2 separate regions of the Homo sapiens genome follow, and region 2 is linked to region 1. Evidence: promoter capture Hi-C in human tissues and cell types (Jung and others, 2019). All regions are on one chromosome and are shown on one strand. Each heading gives the region's core, a stretch centred on a gene start or on the middle of the fragment in contact. The rest is flanking DNA. Distances are from core to core; before and after follow the strand shown.

Region 1 (4,091 bases), core at 862-3,361:
TGAGACAGAGTCTCACTCTGTCATCCACGCTGTAGTGCGGTGGTGCGATCTCAGCTCACTGCAACCTCCGCCTCCCGGGTTCAAGTCATTCTCCTGCCTCAGCCTCCCGAGTACTTGGGATTACAAGCACGTTCCACCACACCCGGCTAATTTTTGTAATTTTAGTCGAGACAGGGTTTCACCATGTTCGCCAGGCTGGTCTCGAACTCATGACCTCAAGTGACCTGCCCACCTCGGCCTCCCAAAGTGCTGGGATTACCGCCGTAAGTCACTACACCCAGCCTCAAAAACTATATTTTTAAAAATTAGCAGCTGGGCGCAGTGGCTCATGCCTGTAATCCCAGCACTTTGGGAGGCCAAGGCAGGTAGATCGCGAGGTCAGGCGTTCGAGACCAGCCTGGCCAAGTTGGTGAAACCTCATCTCTACTAAAAATACAAAAATTAGCTGGGCATGGTGGTAGGTGCCTGTAGTCCCAGCTACTAGGGAGGCTGAGGCAGAAGAATTGCTTGAACCCAGGAGGTGGAGGTTGCAGTGAGCAGAGATCACGCCATTGCACTCCAGCCTGGGCGACAGGGTGAGACTCCATGTCTCAAAAAAAAAAAAAAATAGCCAGGCACGGTGGCTCACGCCTGTAATCCCAATACTTTAGGAGGCCAAGGCAGGAGATTTGCTTGATCCTCCCAGGAGTTAGAGATCAGCCTGGGCAACATAGCAAGATCCTGTTTCTATAAAAAATACATTTTTAAAAATTGGCCAGCCGGGCGCAGTGGCTCACACCTGCAATCCCAGCGCTTTGGGAGGCTGAGGTGGGTGGATCACCTGAGGTCAGGAGTTCGAGACCAGCCTCACCAACGTGGAGAAACCCTATCTCTACTAAAAATACAAAATTAGACAGGTGTGGTGGCACATGCCTGTAATCCCAGCTACTCAGGAGGCTGAGGCAGGAGAATCACTTGAACCCAGGAGGTGGAGGTTGCGGTGAGCCAAGATCGAGCCATTGTACTCCAGCCTGGGCAACAAGAGTGAAAACTCCGTTTCAAAAAAAACAAAAAAAAAATTGGCGGGGGTGCCAGGCACGGTGGCACATGCCTGTAATCCCAGCACTTTGGGAGGCCAAGGCGGGTGGATCACTTGAGATCAGGAATTTGAGACCAGCCAAGCCAACATGGTGAAACCCCGTCCCTACTAAAAATACAAAAATTAGCTGGCCGTGGGGCACATGCCTGTAATCCCAGCTACTTGGGAGGCTGAGGCAGGAGAATCGCTTGAACCCAGGAGGCGGAGGTTGCAGTGAGCCCAGATCACGCCACTGCACTCCAGCCTGGACAACAAAGGAGACTCCATCTTAAAAAAAAATTAATTAAATAAATTTTAAAAATTAGCCGGAGCATGGTGTTGTGTGCCTGTGGTTCCAGCTACTGGGAAGGCTGAGGTGGGAGGATTAACTGAACCTGGGAGTTTGAGGCTCCAGTTAGCTGTGAACTGACCTCCCTGGGTGACATATATATATTTAAGCCACTGAGCTGTGAAGGTTGTGAAGGTATGTGAGTTATGTCTTGAAAAATACACACATAGTGAGCGCCAAATCCCGGGAGTAGTGTTTAAGTGGCGGGCTTGTCAGCTGTCAAGGGCTCTGCAGCCCTTTCTCTGAATCCAAGTTCTTCTTCCTGTGGACAGGGAACCCAGGCTGCGAACTGGGAGGATGTGGCCTCGTGGGGGGCAGGGCCAGCGTGCTGTGATGGGGATGGGGCTGGGCAGGTTGGGGCTGCCTGCTACTCCCCACTCCTGACTCTGGGTGGGGACAGAAGGCAGAGGGAGGCTCCTGGCACCTGGGGCACAGGAATCTCAGGCATGTGGTCCTGAGCCTGTTTCCAAAAGCCAGACCCTCCTCCCCAGGGCGGAGAGACTGGGAGGGGCCCCAATCCAGGCTCCGGGATGGCCTGGCTGGCATCTGGGGTTCCAGTGGCCCCTCTCCCTTGGCCCTGGCAGTGGGGCTGGATACTGGCCTGCCTCCCACCAGAGTCCCCCCAGCTCCTCCCTGCTGTGGGCTGGCCTGGGAGGAAGGGGGTGGGGTGCACTTACATTTGCAGGTCTTTCCAGCCCCTGGGGCAGCCTGATTAACCAGCTTCTCCAGGGCCAAGCTGTTGGGGGTGAGGTGCAGCCCGAAGCAGCCAGACCAGCCCCTGAGCCTCCCGGGTGCTGGCAGCTGTCATGGGGCTACCCTGGGGGCAGCCTCACCTAGGGCTGCAGATGCTCCTCCTGGCGTTGAACTGTCTCCGGCCCAGCCTGAGCCTGGGTGAGTGGGGGTCCTGGATGGACGCGTCCAGCCAGACCCAAGGGGCTGGGGGCCCTGCTGGAGTGATTGGACCCTGGGCGCCCGCCCCCCTCCGATTGGGAGAGGCAGCCCCAGGGACCCCCACGCCCGTCTCCGTGGCTCACCTTTTGTCCCCCGTGGCCACAGAGCTGGTGCCCTACACACCACAGATAACAGCTTGGGACCTGGAAGGGAAGGTCACAGCCACCACCTTCTCCCTGGAGCAGCCGCGCTGTGTCTTCGATGGGCTTGCCAGCGCCAGCGATACCGTCTGGCTCGTGGTGGCCTTCAGCAATGGTACGGGGACTGCTGTGGGGCCTGGGTGAGGGTGACGGCTGAGGAGAGTGGTGGGCCCTAGGAGCCCCTCACCAGCAAGCGCCTTCAATGATTGAGCCCCTGTGGGGGCCTTTGGGAGAGTAGGTGTGGATGAATTGGGCTTTATCTAAAGGGGTAATATGTGTATTGAAAAATACACACGTAGTGAACACCAAATCCCGGGAGTAGTGCTAGTGGTGGGTTTGTCAGCTGTCAAGGGCTCTGCAACCCTTTCTCTGAATCCAAGTAGTTCTTCCTTTGGACAGGGAACCGAGGCTGCGACCTGGGAGGATGTGGCCTCCTGTGGGGCAGGGCCGGTGCACTGCAATGGGGCTGGGGCTGGGGCTGGGCAGGTTGGGACTGCCCGCTGCTCCCCACTCCTGGCTCTGGGTGGGGACAAAAGGCCAGAGGGAAGCTCCCCTTCAGGGGTAACAAAGTCGACTGGGTCTGGACTATCTCTGGGGGCCCTGAGGGAGGAGGTGGCATGGGGGGTCAGGGCTGGAGACTGGGCGAACACAGAACCCCCACTCATAAGGACAAAGCTGCTTTCTCCCCTCCCACCTCCATCTGTTCTCTCCTCCTGCAGCCTCCAGGGGCTTCCAGAACCCGGAGACACTGGCTGACATTCCGGCCTCCCCACAGCTGCTGACCGATGGCCACTACATGACGCTGCCCCTGTCTCCGGACCAGCTGCCCTGTGGCGACCCCATGGCGGGCAGCGGAGGCGCCCCCGTGCTGCGGGTGGGCCATGACCACGGCTGCCACCAGCAGCCCTTCTGCAACGCGCCCCTCCCTGGCCCTGGACCCTATCGGTGGGTGGTCCCCACCGGAGCCCTGGGACTGGGGCTGTGCTTGGGGCGGACGCATTGCTGGGACCAGGGATGCTCTCTCTAGCATCTTTCCAGGGAGGGGTCCCCGGCCCCGGTCCTCCCCTTTGCAAGCCCGGGCTCCTTCCACTGTAGAGTCAGCAACAGTGCTCACCCCCGCTGGGGCCGGGCAAGGCCCAGGAGGAGCAGGTGGGCACCTTGGGGAGGCGGGATCTTAGTCAAGGTGGGAGGGGGCAGCTTCCCCAAAGTCTAGGCCCCTGTCCCCCACCACGGGCAGATCTGGCAGGAAACTCGGGGGCCGAGTTCAGACCCAGTCTCGTCGGTATTAGGCAGGGAGCAGGAGAGGTGGCTCCTACCCGCTCTTACAGATGAGGAAACTGAGGCACAGGAGGTCAAGTGGCCTGCCAACATCGGGGTGGAGCCGGGATGGGGAAGCAGGCAGTGTGTCCAGGTCAGGACTGTCCGGACACAGGAGGAGGCGGGGTGACCTCAGGAAGACCAGGCCCAGGGGAAGCCGGGAAGGCAGGGCGTGGTGAGGCTGGAACAGCACCCCGCTCCGCCCAGCCCCCTTCTGCCCTCTCACCCACTCTCCAGGTCCACCCTCTGCCCTCCCCGCTGCCTCACCCTGGCTCAG
Region 2 (4,091 bases), core at 959-3,458, 200 kb before region 1:
CCAGGAGTGAATTATTTCCAGGCGCCATCATCACTCCGACTATAGAATCAACAGGATTTGACAGGTGCAGCTTTCGACTGCTCTGTTGAGAGGGTGGAGACAGAAGCAAAAGCTGCCCACAGAAAGGCGACAGGGAACCCCAGAGCTAGGTCCCAAGAGCCTCTTGGTGATGGAGGAGAGCCACCAAGGGACAGGAGGGTTGGGGGAACTGGAGCTCCGGCCCAGGGACAGAGCCCCAAACCACCTCCAGCCCAGGCACAGAGCCCCAGACCACCGAAGCCCTATGCCACCATGGCAGAGCCCAGGGCAGGGCAGGGGTCAGGCTGGCCCCCCCAAACACCTCCCCACCATTCCCACATGCATACACCAGGACCTGGGGGGTTGCAACAGTGCCAGAGGTCACGGGTTGGCAGGGGAGGGAGAGGAGGAAGAAAGCAGAAGAGCAGAGGGATGCGGGTGAGGCTGGGCTTGTCTCAGACAGTCTGGCACTAGCCCTCAAAGCTCAGAATCCCTGATATGGGGGCTAAGCCCCACTGCCATACTGCCCCTCCCAGGGAAATTGCCCCCCAGGGAATATGGGGGGAACCTCTGAGTGTAGCTCCCCTGGGGCCTGGAGGGCATATCAAGACATGGGGGATAGTGAACAGCATCATAGCTCTAAGTGTCCCTGATCTGGCTGGGCGTGGTGGCTCACCCCTGTAATCGCAGCACTTTGGGAGGCTGAAGGGGGCAGATTAGCTGAGGTCAGGAATTCAAGACCAGCCTGGCCAACATGGCAAAACCCGTCTCTACTAAAAATACAAAAATTAGCCGGGTGTGGTGGCGCACGCCTGTAATCCCAGCTACTCAAGAGGTTGCAGTGAGCTGAGATCAGGCCACTGCACTCCAGCCTGGGCAACAGAGCAAAACTTTCAGGAAAAAAAAAAAGTGTCCCTGATCTGTAAATGTGTAGTGGAAACTATAGAAAGGCACTGCAGGCTGGGCGCAGGGGCTCACACCTGTAATCCCAGCACCTTGGGGGGCCTAGGCAGGAGATTTACTTGACACCAGGAGTTAGAGAGCAGCCTGGGCAACATAGCAAGAACTCATCCCTGCAAAAAAAGAAAAAAAAAATTAGCCACATGTGCTGGTGCGCACCTGCAGGAGGATCACTTAAGCCGAAAAGCTAGAAGCTGCAGTGAGTTATGATCACACCACTGCACTCCAGCCTGGGTGATAGTGCAAAACCTTGTCTCAAAAATAAATAAATTTAAGAAAAGCAAAGAAAAGGTGTTTCCGGCTGGGCACAGTGGCTCACACCTGTAATCCCAGCACACTGGGAGGCCAAGGCAGGAGGATTACGAGGTCAGGAGTTTGAAACCAGCCTCACCAATATGGCCAGGCGTCGTAGCACGCCTGTAGTCCCGGTGAGTCCAGAATTCGTGGGTTCTTGGTCTCACCGACTCAAAGAATGAAGCCGAGGACCTTCACGGTGAGTGTTACAGTTCTTAAAGGCGGCGTGTCGGGAGTTTTTTCCTTCTGGTGGGTTCATGCTCTCACTGGCTCAGAAGCGACGCTGCAGACCTTCACCGTTGAGTGTTACAGCTCTTAAGGCGGCGCATCTGGAATTGTTTGTTCCTCCCGGTGGGTTCGTGGTCTCGCTAGCTGAAGAGTAAAGCTACAAACATTCACGTCAAGCGTTACAGCTCTTAAAAGCGGTGTGGACCCAAAGAGCGAAACAACAAAGCTTCCACACTGACGAAGAAGACCCTAAGTGGCTTGCTACTGCTGGTTCGGGTAGCCTGCTTTTATTCGCTTATCTGGCCCCACCCACGTCCTGCTGATTGGTCCATTTTACAGAGAGCCGACTGGTCCATTTTACAGAGAGCTGATTGGTCCGTTTTGACAGGGCTGATTGGTGTGTTTACAATCCCTGAGCTAGACACAAAAGTTCTCTACATCCCCACTAGATTAGCTAGATAGAGAGTGTGGACACAAAGGTTCTCCAAGGCCCCACCAGAGTAGCTAGATACAGAGTGTCGATTGGTGCATTCAGAAATCCTGAGCTAGACACAGGGCGCTGATTGGTGTGTTTACAAACCTTGAGCTAGATACAGAGTGCCGATTGGTGTATTTACAATCCCTTAGCTTGACATAAAGGTTCTCCACCAGACTCAGGAGCCCAGTTGGCTTCACCCAGTGAATCCTGTATGGGGGCCGCAGGTGGAGCTGCTTGCCAGTCCCGTGCTGTGCGCCCGCACTCCTCAGCCCTTGGGTGGTCGATGGGACTGGGCGCCGTGGAGCAGGGGGCGGTGCTTGTCAGGGAGGCTCGGGCCGCGCAGGAGCCCACAGCGGGGTGGGGAGGCTCAGGCATGGCGGGCTGCAGGTCCCGAGCCCTGCTCTGCTGAGAGGCAGCTAAGGCCCGGTGAGAAGTCGAGCACAGCAGCTGCTGGCCCAGGTGCTAAGCCCCTCACTGCCCGGGGCCGGCGGGGCCGGCCGGCTGCTCCAAGTGCGGGGCCCGCCAAGCCCACGCCCACCCGGAACTCGCGCTGGCCCGCAAGTTCCACGCGCAGCCCTGGTTCCCGCCCGCGCCTCTCCCTCTACACCTCCCCACAAGCTGAGGGAGCCGTCTCCGGCGTCGCCAGCCCAGGAAGGGGCTCCCACAGTGCAGCGGCGGGCTGAAGGGCTCCTCAAGTGTCGCCAAAGTGGGAGCCCAGGCAGAGGAGGCGCCGAGAGCGAGCGAGGGCTGCGAGGACTGCCAGTACGCTGTCACCTCTCACCAGCTACTCGGGAGGCTGAGGCAGAAGAATCGCTTGAACGCAGGAGGCAGAGGTTGCAGTGAGCCAAGATTATGCCACTGTACTCCAGCCTGGGCAAAAGAGCGAGACTCCGTCTCAAAAAAAAAAAAAAGAAAAGAAAAAGAAAAGGTGTTCCCCTCCATGCCCCAGTGGACTAATTCGTTTGGGCAGGTACCTTTCCCAGAAACTGGCTGGCCCAACCCTTCAGCTTACAGAGGGGAACTTGAGGCCTGACTGGGACTGCATTTGGCCAGGGTCACCCAGCAGGTCTGGGCAGGGCAGGAGCAGGGTGCGTGCACTCCACCCCAAAGGGTGCACTGTTCTACCCATCAACCGATGCCCTGGGTGCCAGCGCTGAGGAGGCCAGGGATGGAGACCCACGCATAAGCAGAGATCACTCCATTCCTGGCACGCTCCTCCTGGTCGAGACCTCTGGTTCTCTTTCCCTTTCCAACTCGCCAGGTGACTTTGGACCTCGCTTTGCCCATCTAACTGTGCCTCCCAAGGACGAGCCATATTTTCATGGGCTGCTTACAAGAGACAGCCCTGCCAACCGCCAGTTGGTGCTGGGAGAGTTGGCAGTGTGACAAATGCCGGGAATCCCTGGCTTGGCTGAGAAGGGACGGCTCTGGATCAATAACAGACTCGTGGGATGGCCTCGGGCAGGAGCACGAGGGTGGCAGAGCCTCCCTGGCTGGCCTGCAAACAAAAAGCAAGTGTCCAGCCAGGGCTCTCGACTCAGCCCAGGGAGAAAAGAGCACAGCTGGGGACCCTGGGAAAAACAGACTCCCTCTGGGCGGGGTTCCTATAGCATAACAGCCCCTCCCACCCTTCTTCTCAGCTGGGTACAGCAGCTGCCCTGCCTAAGATGACAGTGATGGTATCAGCAGCTGACTCTGGTAGAAGGAAGTCTTCCCCCTCCCTGCCCACCGCCCCAGGACTGAACAAGGGGGCAGAGCCTGCCAGGAGGGATTGGGGTTAAAGAATGAATCAAGGCCAGGCGCAGTGGCTCATGCCTGTAATCCCAGCACTTTGAGAGGTTGAATCGGGAAGATCGCTTGAGCCCAGGAGTTCAAGACCAACCTAAGCAACATAGTGAGTCCCCATCTTTACCAAAAACGTTTTTAAAAATTAGCTGGGGCTGGACACAGTGACTCACACCTGTAATCCCAGCACTTTGGGAGGCTGAGGCAGGTGGTTCATCTGAGGTCAGGAGTTCAAGACCAGCCCTAACCAACATGGCGAAACCCTATCTCTACTAAAAATACAAAAATTAGCTAGATGTGGTGGTGCTTGCCTGTAATCCCAGCTACT

Evidence for each region. The method cuts DNA at HindIII sites, captures the fragments that hold promoters and counts their contacts. A contact is called where the count stands out against the background at its distance.
Region 2: a fragment that was not itself captured here is called in contact with the fragment with the promoter of UPK3B in region 1 in 1 of the 25 tissues and cell types used here (spleen).

Annotation. Positions count from the first base shown.
Region 1 is chr7:76,508,441-76,512,531 of GRCh38, forward strand. It overlaps UPK3B (uroplakin 3B), which reads left to right and starts at 2,112. Exons shown (of 6, transcript NM_001347684.2): 1 at 2,112-2,297; 2 at 2,463-2,612; 3 at 3,217-3,442. The coding sequence starts at 2,213. It overlaps LOC124901675 (a long non-coding RNA gene), which reads right to left and starts at 2,293. Exons shown (of 2, transcript XR_007060388.1): 1 at 2,084-2,293; 2 at 1-1,668. RefSeq lists a silencer at 494-699 and enhancers at 1,577-2,149, 2,150-2,722, 3,476-4,091. The HindIII fragment of the contact is 20,174 bases long and covers 1-4,091 here.
Region 2 is chr7:76,307,242-76,311,332 of GRCh38, forward strand. No RefSeq gene overlaps it. Among named protein-coding and RNA genes, the nearest start is that of HSPB1, 6.6 kb to the left of the region's middle. The HindIII fragment of the contact is 4,912 bases long and covers 1-4,091 here.